Linked DNA regions of Homo sapiens: all the other regions are linked to region 1. Evidence: promoter capture Hi-C in 16 types of primary human blood cells and fetal thymus (Javierre and others, 2016). All regions are on one chromosome and are shown on one strand. The core of a region is centred on a gene start or on the middle of the fragment in contact, and the rest is flanking DNA. Distances in the headings are between cores, read along the strand shown. Region 1 holds the start of APPL2 (adaptor protein, phosphotyrosine interacting with PH domain and leucine zipper 2). Region 2 has its middle 22 kb from the start of CKAP4. Region 3 overlaps TXNRD1 (thioredoxin reductase 1).

Region 1 (4,478 bases), core at 780-3,279:
TGCTTAACACTGAGCAGTCTATATTTAATACATGAATGAATGATTGGATGAATTAACAAATGAGATAAATTAAAACCATTTATGCATGTGTTGTATTTCCAGATCTACTTTTGTAACTTAGTTGTTTTGAATTTGGGATAGATTTTCCCATAGAAACAATGTTGTAAACAGTTCTTAAGTTCCAAGAAATCCCACTAAGGCTGTTTAGCCCATAATGTAGCAAGAAAATGCAGAAAAGTAATGGGATAGCTTAAACAATTTTTGAATGTTGAATACTAGTATTTGAAGAAAAGTAACTTTAATTAGAAGATGAGGTGGTACATGAAAAATGCTGTGATTCCCAAGGGGCTGTCTGAGCCCTTTCAAGGGTTCTGAGGGCACTAACTTCTTGTAATGCATATTTTCAAATTAAAATGTGCACATTTATTTCCCTGGGTATAATACTATCCTTGTACTGTTCTCGCAATCAGGATGAAGGAAGAGCATGAGTCTGGCCGTGAGGAATTAGATTTCAGTGAGAAGAGAGTCTGGGACACTGGATGAGGTAAAATGAACTGAATGGCAGGCGGTATAAAATAGAGGAAAGGGAAGAAATATGGTGTGAGCATGATTCCACCTATAGGGAAGACAAGAGTATGGTGGAGGCAAGAAAGAATAGGGAAGAAAGAATACTGTGGAGGAAAATATGGTAGATGGAGGCCATAAAATGGTTCAGGTCAGGTTGGCGCTGGCCAGACCAAGGGAATAATGGCCTTGGAGTTTTCAAGTGATCAGGCAGCATGCTACTATACTAGACTGTCAGAGGTGTCAGCAATGCAGATTGGGTCTTGATATACCTAAGAGGTCTCTGCAGAATGCAGAATTTATATATTACCATATCCCCTCTGTTGATTTTGGTGACACACATACTGCATGATTTTTTTTTTTTTTTTTGAGACGGAGTCTTGCTCTGTTGCCCAGGCTGGAGTGCAGTGGTGCCCTCTCGGCTCACTGAAACCTCTGCCTCCCGGGTTCAAGTGATTCTTCTGCCTCAGCCTCCCGAGTAGCTGGGATTACAGGCGCATGCCACCACGCCCGGCTAATTTTTGTATTTTTAGTAGAGACGGGGTTTCAGCATCTTGGCCAGACTGGTCTTGAACTCCTGACCTCGTGATCCACCCATCTCGGCCTCCCAAAGTGCTGGGATTACAGGCGTGAACCACCACGCCCGGCCAGTCTTATTAACTTCTAAAGAAGGAACTTCAGAAACCCTTGCCTTCCGTGTAAAAAGGTGTCACGTTCCACTTGCCAGTCTTCTTCCATCCCTCTCCCTTCCTTCTTTTCTTCCTCTGGCGTTTACTAACTGACCCTGGGCAGACCACTTATTTCTCTGGGTCCCATTTTCTCATCTCTAAATGACAACACTGGAACCTAGATTATCTAGCCCTTCCAATTCTAAACATTTGATTATGAAATTCTCCAAAATCACAAAACATAAACCAGGAGGACGAGACCTAATTATGACCACATCAAATAGCTGTGGTTTCCAAAGTGGTTATTTCTGATTATCACAGACGAGTCAGTTATCCAGCTTTTCTCCTCTTTTCTTTGTTCCCATAGCATAGGCGACCTCTTTGCTCTCAGAGCTGTTTCAGGGGCGTCGAAATTTATCTAGAAAAAGTGGTGTGGGAAGTGTGGGTTTTTCCTTCCATTAAAAGAAAAAATCTGTTCGCTCCTTCAACTCAAAAGGCTTTCTGGGTAGCCATAAGCAGATAAAACCTTATCTTTCTACCCTCGAGTTCCTCTTTTGGACTTCATATGCATTGACTTGACGGACCTTCAGCACAGAGAACAAACACCCGAAGGGTTCCCTCAGCAACGGGACTGGCACCCAGAGCCCCCCGCTCCCCGCGAGCCGGCGAGCGCAGGCGGAAGCGCGGGCGCCACATTTCCGGTGTCGGGACCGGAGCTCACCACACTTCCGGTTTCCCTGCCGGGCGCGCCACACTTCCTGTTGATCCGGCTCGGCCGGGGGCTGGGCCGGCGGGCAGGCGGCGGCGGCCACTGGCCAGGCGTGGACGCGCGCGGGGCCGCCGCGGGCACGGAGTGGCCGCCGCGTCGCCTGAGCCCAGAGCCGGGGAGTGCTCTCGGCCGCCGCGTCTCCTGCCCTCTGTCCTTCCAACCCAGCCCTCGGCTGAGCCGCGCCGCACCATGCCCGCCGTGGACAAGCTCCTGCTAGAGGAGGCGTTGCAGGACAGCCCCCAGGTACCTCCCGCCGCTCCGGTGCCCCTCGCCCGCAGGGGTGAGGCCGAGGAGGCCCCTCCAGCCCCGGAGTGGAGGCCGCGCCCCCGGCCGGGCAGCCGCGGGAGTGCGCCCGGCCCCCTCGCGGCGCCTCCCACCGGGTTCTCTCGGGCTGAGGAGGGGGCGGGCCGGGCCCTGAGTCCTGAGCCGGGGCAGAGCTGTGGAACAGGGGAGAGAGCCCCGCGGCCGGAGTCTTGATGTCGTGACCCCCCTGCAAGCTCAGCTGCAACTGAGTCTGCGAGATCTAAACTTTGATTCCATGTAGTAGCTGAGTGCCTCAGGAAAACCACCTTATTGTGCCTTAGTTTTGTCGTCTGTAAAATAGGAATAATAATTGTGCCTGCTTCATAGGGTTGTTAGGAGAAGTCAATGAGAAATACCTGTAAAGTTGTCAGCAGACAATGTCCGGTACAGATAATGAGTCAGTCTTATTACTGCTACTCCTAATGATGTGATGAGACTTGTGCCAGCCAGAATGAGAGGCAGAGGGCCTGGATCTCTTTTCCGGCGGTACCAGGCCTCCTTTTGGCACCGTTTTCCCATTAGTGAAGAGAAAAATACAGTACCTGCCCCATTTGTCGCACAAGGGAACTTCATTAGCACACTCGAGATGAGAGTCAAGTCCTTTGAGCTCTGCAGATGAAAACTGGTGTGTAAATATAGCAAATGAGTGCAGGATGACATTAGTTCATAATTCAGCACATCTTTCCCCAGGGGTCTTTTGTTCTCCTTTGTTTAACATTTCTCCAGCTTCGTACCTACACTCCTGGTTCAGCATCCCGGGTTTATTTAAATAAGTGCCTTTATTTCCTAGTGTCTCAACTCTTGAAAACTTAGAATAAGATTAACCTATTTTCGTTTCACACTTTCCCCTCTCTTTTGGGGTTCCTTCCCTTTTTCTTCTAAGTGAATAATACTTCCCAGGATGATCCTTGTATGGATTTACCTACATCGACAGTTCAGAATAAGTCCGAAGGGCTGTATGCATAGGTGTCTTTTGTTCATTTTTTGTGATCCTCCTAGTGTAGATAAGTAAGGAACTGGAAGCAAGCTGTGTGTGTGTTTTTTGTTTGTTTGTTTTGTTTTTTGGTAAGTTTGCATCCTCTGGACGACTTTTTCAAGGCCTCCCTTTTTTATATGGCTGTAGACTCCTGGCATTTTAATCAGACTAAAGCCCTTGGTAGAAGGCATTTTGTCCATGTTCATATCTGTTGTGTGGAATCTGAAGATAGCAATGTGAGATTTTAAATGATCACTTTGAACAAGGATCTCTGTTTGCCTTGCACTTATGGAAACTGAGGTGCACAGAAATATCCTGCTTTTCTAACCTACATGGTGATGCCTAAGCCAGGTTACAGTGATTATACTAACTGATTCTTGATGTTGTCCTCACAAACAGATCATATTCTTAATTTCCAGCTCTAACATAAAGGAATATACACTGTTTGTGAGTGGCTTAAAGGATTTGCCCAGCTGTGAGGAAGTAGACAGGACTGTAGAGCAAGTCAGGAGACCTGGGTTCTAATTCTGGCTCTCACGCTCACTTAGGATGTGATGTGGGTGAGTCTCTTCATCTCCACCCTGTAGCTGGCTCAGTTTCCTAATCTACAGAACATCTACAGAATGAGAGACAGGGAGGGAGCAGGTGATCTTCAAGGTGCTTTAGAGTTAACATTGTCATATCTACATGGTGTATAACTTTGAACTTGTATGTGGCAGAGGAGGTTTAGAGATATTATCATTCTTATTTAATATGTTCCTTTTAATATAGGAAGTTTATTTGTCATTGCTTTTGAGACTTGGCCATCACCCTTAAGAGGGCTCTTGATGGTGCTGTTGTGCAGAATGGAAGCTGACTTTAAGAAGGTCTTTAATGATCATCAGAGCATATTTATATACTACTCTCTTGTATGTGACCTGTGCCTAATGTAGCTTTACTCCCAAGGTGACTCCTAGACTTGGAACTGGAAGGAATCTAATCCATCCCCTTCATTTTATGTGCAAAGCATAAAAACAATAGCAAATGCCTGTTTCATGGATTTTATGTGCCAGGGACTCTTCTAAATGCTTTACATATATTAACTCACTCAATCCTCCCAATAGTCTTGAAGTACATTCTCTATTTAAATAACTAAGGAGCAGAGAAGTAATTTGCTTAGAATTATACACCATAAAGTGACAGAGCCAGGACTGGAACC
Region 2 (4,478 bases), core at 817-3,316, 990 kb before region 1:
TAATTAAACTTTTTTTTTTTAAAGGGGAAGAAACACATAGAGAAAAGCTTATACTTTTAATAGTTAAACTAGTACAGGTCAGAAAACAAATGACGCCTACATATATTACGTGAAGTGCTGCATTTACGCATGATTACTTTTCATAGTAATGATAGCTAAGTAGCCATGTGACAGGCCTTAGAAAGCTAAGGCTGAGAGAAGGCTCTAATCTAATTCTGTTGTTTTACAGATGGGGAGGCTGAGTCTCAGAGAAGTTGTTCACCCAAGCTCATACACTAACTGGCTAAGAAGACAGGGCCTAATTTCTTCTCTTATCCCCCACAATTTGTTTTGGCTCCAGGCCTAAGCACAGATGCAAAATGCTCAGAAGTAAGCGAAGAATCAGGGCAGTTGAGTTGCTGCAGGCAGCAAAACCCACTCTTGGCAGGAAGGGGTGTGGCAGCCTGGCCTTGCTGTGCAAGCCCCCGCGTGTGGCAGCGAACACTCAGGAGCAATACCTGTTGGGTAATGGGGCTGTGGGGAAATCCCGGCCTGTGTTCAAATAGCTGGTGATGTTGTGTTGAAAGAGGCATTACCAACTGGGTGTGGCTGCTGGTGTGAGGACACATCCTGTCCCACAGAGTCCTTCATGGAAACTCAGAAGGCTAGGTCTTTTTGTTTTCTTCCATTCACGGGTATGATCTTGGTTTGCACTCCAGGACGGAGTTCTCACATGGTGTGACAAGAACAGCAGGGATGGGGGAAGTCACCTGGAATCAGGACTCTGGTCCGAATGCTGGCCTGCCGGGCTGTGCTGCCTAGGATAATTCACTTTCCTTCTCTGGGCCTCCATCTGTTTTCCCATCTGAAAAGTGAGGGGAGATAAAGTAATCTTCATGTTCTCTTCCAGATCCAACTTTCCTTGACTTTAACCATTGCACAAGAGTCTTTTGGAGCCTCGGGTGGGCAGGAGGAGGCCTAAGGGAAAAAGGACTAGACAGTGAGCAGATCTCTAGGGGCCAGGGTGGCTTCTGTCTTAACCAAGGGTCTGTTTGTAGCTCCCATGGGGGCCGGCACACACTGGGTCACAATTAATGTTTTCTCATTTATTGGGGTGAAATGGGGAATGTTGGCCGGGCCGGGCTGACATCTTGGATAACCTCATGTGAAGACTATTCACTTTCAGAAGATGCCGGGATGCACCAGTAAAAAATCCAGAGCGGCTCAAGCCCCTGAACTTTCAGCTGGGGAATAGCCCCAAATCAGCTGACTGTGGCAGTAGGAACCCAGAGAACATAATTGAAGTGAGAATTTATTGCCATCTAGTGTCAGAGTCAGGGATCACAGGAATGATTTCTTCATTTTTCGCTCTTGTTCCAGAAAGGGGATAAAATCCAATTGTACCATTAAAAATACCAGAGAAATCCACTATTTAAAAGACCTATGTGTGTATTTCTCTGTGACATGAATGCTTTTGTAATGTGTATACTATCCTACTAATTAGCCCCTTTTGAAAACTTAGGTAATAAAGGGTTTTGTTTAATATGAATCTTTTGTTAGTAGAAGTTTAGATACCGAAAGACCTTTATCGTTCCTATGTCAAGCTAGTTAAGAAGTGCGCAGTGGCTCACGCCTGTAATCCTAGCACTTTGGGAGGTCAAGGTGGGCGGATCACGAGGTCCGGAGATCGAGACCATCCTGGCTAACACGGTGAAACCCCATCTCTACTAAAAACACAAAAAATTAGCTGGGCGTGGTGGCACGTGCCTGTCATCCCAGCTACTCGGGAGGCTGAGGCAGGAGAATCGCTTGAACCTGGGAGGCGGAGGTTGCTGTGAGCTGAGATCACAGCACTGCACTCCGGCCTGGGCAACAGAGTGAGACTCTGTTTCAAAAAGGACAAAAAAAAAAAAAAGTGCAAGTGGCGCCCTTTAAATAAGGCAAGTCAAATGTTGGATGCTTAGTCCTTCACTTAAGTAATAGTCACCCATAATTGTGTTTTGTGTTTGATGTCATGCTTTAGGTGGAACACATTTATCATCTCGCTTACCCTGACGATTATCCCAGGGAGTAAAAGTGGTTGTCTCTGATTTACTGATCAGACACTAAGAAATGGTCATTAATTTGCTCTGGGAGCACGCAGTCTGTGGTAGCAGCAGGACTCGGACTCTGTTTGTCTCTAATAAGGCCTGCTTTTTGTCTGTTAAACCATACTCCCTTTCCCATAGTAATAAAATCAGCTTCCCATAATGTCCCAGGATACAACTATGTACTTGTACTGTGTGTATAGTACTGGTGGTTAAGACACTGGGTTCTGGCCAGGTGCAGTGGCTTGTGCCTGTAATCCCAGCACTTTGGGAGGACAAGGCAGGCAGATTGCTTGAGCCCAGGAGTTCGAGACCAGCCTGGGCAACATGGCGGAAAACCCCATGTCTACAAAAAATATAAAAATTAGCCGGGTGTGGTGATGCATGTCTGTAGACCCAGCTATTCAGGAGGCTGAGGTGGGAGGATTGCTTGAGCCTGGGAAGTCAAGGCTGCAGTGACCCATGACGGCAGCACTGCCCTCTAGCCCAAGTGAGACCCTGTCTCAAAAAAAAAAAAAAAAAAAAAGATAAGAAATTGGATAAGTTGAGTTTTTGAGCCTTACTATTTGAGTTCCCAGCCATGGCATATTCTATCTGTCTGACATCGGGACAGTTACTTAAGTGCTCCGTGCCTCAGTCTCCCCACCTATAAATGCAAATGATGCTAATGATAGTGCCTACTTCATAGGGTTGTTGTGAGGCTTACTCCATCTGAGGTGCTTAGAACAGTGGCCATGACAGTGAAGTGCTCAATAAATAGTACTTAGAAATTGACTAAATGCAGGGAATTTGAAATGCCAGGCTTGTGAAATGAGCCCTTCTATTGTTGGCCTGCAAAATGTGAGTTTAGAATTTTTTTTTTGACAGGGTCTTACTCCATTGCCCAGGCTGGAGTGCAGTGGCATGATCATAGCTCACTTGCAGCCTTGACCCTCCGGGCTCAAGCGATCCTCCCGCTTAATCCTCTCTTGTAGCTGGAACCACAGGTGCACACCGCTACACCTGGCTCGTGTTTTGATCTTTTCATAGAGACAGGGGTCTCACTATGTTGCCTAGGCTGGTATCAAACTCCTCAGATCAAGTAATCCTTGCACCTCGGCCTGCTGAAGTGTTGGGATTACAGGCATGAGCCACTGTGCCCCGTTGAGTTTGGAATTTTGATTATGAGTGCCTTCAGGTGGGCCTGTGTTTGATTGTGAGTGCCTTCAAGTGGGCCTGTGTTTGATTGTGAGTGCCTTCAGGTGGGCCTGTGTTTGATTGTGAGTGCCTTCAGGTGGGCCTGTGTTTGATTGTGAGTGCCTTCAGGTGGGCCTGTGTTTGATTGTGAGTGCCTTCAGGTGGGCCTGTGTTTGATTGTGAGGTCTTCAGGTGGGCCTGTGGCCTCTAGATTCTCACATTTCCCACCACTCACTTGTGTCTGCTTCTCCATTCATTTAGGCCTCCTGTCTGGCTCCTGGAAGCATTTGGTGTTTTGATCCTTGCAGTGAGTGAGATGAATTACATGGACATTGTCAACCTGATGGAAACTTTGGGCTCTTTGTCGACCTCTTTTAAGGGCTGTGACTTCATGGCTTTGTACATCAAAGAAGATCTTTGGGTTTTCTTGTGCAATTTGGCTTCTCCTGCCGAGAACAGAGGCTCTTCTAGCCAAGAACTAAAGCCCACCATGGCAGTCCCTCCCCAGATTCTTCTGCAGATGGCTACTTTCCTCCTAGCCTTCACGGGAAGGAACCGGGGCTTGCTGAGGTAAGGAGGGGCACAGGAGAGAGGGAGTAAAATCTGCAGAGAGGCAGCCCACACACTCAACCCCTAGAGCCCCTCTGCAGAGAAAGTCTATGCTGAGGAGATGTCAGAGCCACAGGACAGTCCTGAAAATCAGGTGCCACTCAGAGGCAATTGCCATCCACTACCAGAAGAGGGCACTGTAGTGCAGCGGCCCGGGAGGGAGCAGCTGCAGCCGATGAAGGTTCTAGGCCAGACTGCATGGAAGTAGCTGGGACCTGCCGTTAAGAAGCTTGGCCCAATTTTTCCTGATGGCCCCTTCTAGCTCTGACATTCTGCAATCCCATCAGGAGAGAACTGGAATGAATCAGCCAAGAATTCCAAGTGGGTTATAGAAGGAAGAAACCAGAAGCAAGGGCTGGGGGAGGAGGTGGGTGTGGCTGGAAAGTTTCTTTTGTTGGGGGCTAAAATCTGTCTAAGTGAATCCAGCAGGAGGAAAAAAAAGCCTTAAAACAGCTCCCCTGGGGTCACATGCTCAGGTTGGGCAGCCTGTCAAACCACCCCAAGTCGACTGGAATCCAACATGACATTATAGCTCACTCCTGCCCTTGTTGGAGGAGTGCTTAATCCCAAAGAAACAATTAAAGTTACAGATAGCACACACTGGTGGTTTGCCCATCTCTGCATTTT
Region 3 (4,478 bases), core at 516-3,015, 930 kb after region 1:
AACTATTGAGGAGACTAAAGGTCCTGCGCTTTAAAACGCTCGCTGCCATCATATACTGCAGTGAGGTCGACCTGGTTTTGGTTTTTTGTGAACTAAATCTGGCTGGACTGTAAACCGTCGGTAAGGCCAAGGACCGTGAAAAGCAGAAACTCCATTAAGCAGGCTAAACTCTCAGTTCTTTTGCAAGGTGGTGTTTGGACTCATTATACAAATGTAAATCGGGTTAATTACTTTCACATGTCCTCTTAAAAACCAAGCCCCCTCCAATACCCATCCTGAGTATCTGTGGGATCGGGGGAGCCTCCAATATCCGTGCTAACCCCTGCAGGAAACTGGGTGCTGGGCACGGGCATTACTCAGGTGAACTTTGGTTCTCCACTACCCAGGAGTGGAAGAATAGAATGGGTAGAGATCTCTGCAAAAGAGCTATTTACTTGGAAGCTTGCCAACAGCTAAAGGCCACCGACACTGAATGGGTAGTAACTCTGAACCCTAAAAGGTGGGCAAAGCTATGAAAATTTCAGATACAGTCTAAGGATATGAAAGCTTAATCTGTAAACTGGGTGAGTAATCTGCGTGGGAAAATTTACCCATTGGATTTAATGGGGTCACTGGAAACTCAAGTGCAGTTAAAGACGTGACTCCTTATCTGTCTCACCAGCAGCAAATAGCAAAGTATACATAACAATGGGAATGGCCGGGCGCGGTGGCTCACGCCTGCAATCCCAGCACTTTGGGAGGCCGAGGCGGGCGGATCACGAGGTCAGGAGATCGAGACCATCTTGGCTAACCCGGTGAAACCCCGTCTCTACTAAAACTACAAAAAATTAGCCGGGCGCGGTGGCAGGCGCCTATAGTCCCAGCTACTCGGTAGGCTGAGGCAGAAGAATGGCGTGAACCCAGGAGGCGGAGTTTGCAGTGAGCCGAGATCGGGCCACTGCACTCCAGCCTGGGCTATAGAGCGAGACTCCGTCTCAAAAAAAAAAAAAAAAAAAAAGGGAATGAATACATCTGGTTTTTAAAGAGAACATGCACACAAACAACCCATGAGCATCAACAGCTTTTCAAACCTGCAACAGGTACACCTTAAAAAAAAAAAGACACCCACAATTGCACCTGTCCAATTGCCAGTTTCATAGCACCAGGAAGTAAATTAGCCCTACCTTCCTTTATGCATATAGACTTGTTCTATTTCTTTAGCATTAGCAGAAAGTTTTTTGTAAATGTATAAACAGCAAAATCTAGTAGTATTAAGTTACTCCAAAATCCTTATATTACCATTTGCTCCCAATTATTTTATTAACTAGGGGTAATTCAGGGAGATACGTGCATTTTTCAAAACACCATGCATTACGGTTAGTTGTACATATATATGATCCTACCCTATTAGATTGTTGGCTTCTCAAAAACAAAAGCTGCGTTTTAGATCTTCCAAACATAGCTGTTTTTACACGGAGATGCACTTATGTACTGAATGTATAACTTAAAATAGATTTAAAACTATCCCAGCATCTACTGCAAGTTATTTGGCAGCAAAGATTTAAGTTCACAGATTCGTGGAATTAATCCTACACACTGAAAGGAAAAGTTGACTGCTCTTCAGAAAAAGTTCTTATCCCTCTTCTAAAATAAAGGAAAAATGAAAGAAAGGTAAGTTGAGACCCAGGATCATTCAAGGATCGTATCTGTCCCTAGTCTGGCCAATTACAAACTAGTATTTGAACTTGTTTTAAATCTTAGGTGAAAATACAGTTAAGAATTCCAAGACCCAAATCCAAAAAAGTCTGCTTTTACAGTGAACGATATTCTTAGGAGCTTCTCACATCCACTTTAAATTCAACAAAAGCAGCCGGGCACGGTGGCTCACGCCTGTAATCCCAGCACTTTGGGAGGCTGAGGCGGGCGGATCACGAGGTCAGGAGATCAAGACCGTCCTGGCTAACACGGTGAAACCCCGTCTCTACTAAAAATACAAAAAATTAGCCGGGCGTGGTTGCAGGCGCCTGTAGTCCCAGCTACTCTGGAGGCTGAGGCAGGAGACTAGCCTGAACCCAGGAGACGGAGCTTGCAGTGAGCCAAGATCGCGCCACTGCACTCCAGCCTGGGCGACAGAGCGAGACTCCATCTCAAAAAAAAAATTCAACAAAAGCTACTTACAAAAGAACTCTAACAGATAAGCCAACCCTTCCCACCCTATGGTGCCTATTTTCTTCTGGCTCAGAGGAAGGAAAATAGGCTGACACCAATTTGCTACATAAAGACCCTTTCATCTAAGAATTTCAAAATGCCTTAGAAAACTATATTCTCCCAACCTGCTTATAAAGTATTACTAATACCATTTACAGGGATTTCTCAGGAGATAACAGCCCACACAACTTGCTCAGAGCAACAGAGCATATCGAGGCAAACATTAAGTTGTGATTTACAGTGCTGAATGCATTCTATGCTAGATCTCCAAGAACTTTATTAACATGTAACTTAGATCATCCTAAGAAAGGCAGACTTGCATTATGTTCCACCTTTAAAAATCTGCCTTTAGGCCAGGTGCGGTGGCTGACACCTGTAATCCCAGCACTTTGGGAGGCCGAGGTGGGTGGCTCACCTGAGGTCAGGAGTTTGAGACCAGCCTGATCAATATGGAGAAACCACGTCTCTACTAAAAATAGAAAATTAGCTGGGCGTGGTGGCACATGCCTGTAATCCCTGCTACTTCAACCTGGGAGGCAGAGGTTGCGGGTGAGACAAGATTGCACCATTGCACTCCAGCCTGGGCAACAAGAGCGAAACCCCGCCTCAAAAACAAAACAAAACAAAACAAATCTGCCTTTAGACATTGCTACAAAGTAAAACAATCTCAAGTTCAATAACTCTCCCCAATCATATAAAGAATGGGATTTCCATGCCGGTTAATCTTTAAGTCATTAAACAGTGATTTCCTAACCTAAGGTCCAAGTGCTACTAATAATTATTTAAATGAAGCTTAAAAAGAAGAAACTGCACTACTGATAAATTTGTCTGTGACCAGGAATAGAAAGCAAGAAGCGCACTGGTACTTCAAAGAAACCAGTGGCGTCTACCTTATTCCCGCAGTATAGACTAGTTCAGGCAACCATGAGACTGAGTTGCCTCAGAGATAATTTAGCTCCCCTCTTTCCCCTTTTTCCTCTTTCTTCGCTCAAGAGTTGCTACCCAGGGTTCAATACAGACCTCCATTTCCTTTCCTCTTTTCTTCACCCTTTTCTCCTATATTTTCAGTTCCTTTTCTAGGAGTTTAGGTTAATTCCAAGCATTCTTGAGCTCTTTCCCACAACCCATACTGCTCAACACAAACGTGATAGGGTGGATGACAAAGGTCACATGTCTCCCTGTAACCAAATAAAGGAAGAAGTCACGAGTCCACTATTTTTCTCCAGTGAGGTTTTGCTGTTAACACTTACCTATAACAAATGGATTTTTAAGAGACTTTTTGGAGCCAAAGCCAGGAATCAGTCAGGTTTGAGTCCCACACTCTAACATATACACTTATCCTAATAGCTACCTCCCTAAACTTTTCTGTTCCTTCTTTCATAGCAGCTTTTCTCCCTTCATACCACCATGGCTTCTGTTTAATATTGAGTTGTGAAGAAATGTGGTAAAATTCCTAGTTTGATTTGCCAGAATTAGCAGGACATTAGGTATAGTTTCTCTTTCATCTTAACTTTTTTTTTTTTTTTTTTGAGACGGAGTCTTGTTCTTGTCACCCAGGCTGGAGTGCAATGGCACGATCTCGGCTCACTGCAACCTACACCCCCCGGACTCAAGTGATTCTCCTGCCTCAGCCTCCCGAGTAGCTGGGATTACAGGCACGAGTCACCACGCCTGGCTAATTTTTGTATTCTTAGTAGAGACAGGGTTTCAGCATGTTGACCAGGCTGGTCTCGAACTCCTGACCTCGTGATCCGCCCGCCTCAGCCTCCCAAAATGCTGGGATTACATGCGTGAGCCACTGTGCCTGGCAGTTTCTCTTTCATCGTAATTTTCTTTAAAGTTATGTTTGTGTGTATATATTTTGTGTTTTGTTATTATTAAAGGTGAACTTTGCTATGATAAGACAGATATCTGTATTTTTTTTTTTAATGAAAATTAGTTTCTGAAAAGACCACAGACTGTGGGAGGGGACGATCTGGGTTCCAATCTTGACCTATTACCTATTAGTATTATCTTAGCCAGCTTGCTTAACCTCTCAGCCTCCAGTGTCTTTATTTATAAGACGGGAATACTACTGCAGTTGACCCTTGAAGGAAACAGCTTTGAATTGCACAGATCCACTTATACCAAAAGCAATAAAAAATACAGGTCTGCCTGCTCCTTAAAGAGGAAAAAGCTTGTGAGAAATAAAGAAATAAATACTGTATTTGTGAGATGTGATGTTTCACATCCGGTGAATACAGAGAGCTGACTTTCCATATATGCTGGTTCCACAGGGTGGACTTTGGGAC

The links. Contacts are between HindIII fragments. The CHiCAGO score rates a contact against its expected background, and 5 or more counts as called.
Region 2: a fragment that was not itself captured here is called in contact with the fragment with the promoter of APPL2 in region 1 in 1 of 17 cell types (M0 macrophages); the score reaches 5.2 in M0 macrophages.
Region 3: a fragment that was not itself captured here is called in contact with the fragment with the promoter of APPL2 in region 1 in 2 of 17 cell types (neutrophils and non-activated CD4 T cells); the score reaches 7.1 in neutrophils.

Annotation. Positions count from the first base shown.
Region 1 is chr12:105,233,725-105,238,202 of GRCh38, reverse strand. It overlaps APPL2 (adaptor protein, phosphotyrosine interacting with PH domain and leucine zipper 2), which reads left to right and starts at 2,029. Exons shown (of 21, transcript NM_018171.5): 1 at 2,029-2,244. The coding sequence starts at 2,191. RefSeq lists an enhancer at 1,646-2,146 and silencers at 2,011-2,150, 2,201-2,450. The HindIII fragment of the contact is 6,549 bases long and covers 1-4,478 here.
Region 2 is chr12:106,223,805-106,228,282 of GRCh38, reverse strand. No RefSeq gene overlaps it. Among named protein-coding and RNA genes, the nearest start is that of CKAP4, 22 kb to the left of the region's middle. RefSeq lists a silencer at 3,897-4,006 and an enhancer at 4,057-4,106. The HindIII fragment of the contact is 4,033 bases long and covers 50-4,082 here.
Region 3 is chr12:104,299,006-104,303,483 of GRCh38, reverse strand. The region is part of intron 4 of TXNRD1 (thioredoxin reductase 1); the gene reads right to left. Among named protein-coding and RNA genes, the nearest start is that of EID3, 2.5 kb to the left of the region's middle. RefSeq lists enhancers at 1,609-1,778, 2,317-2,486. The HindIII fragment of the contact is 2,433 bases long and covers 549-2,981 here.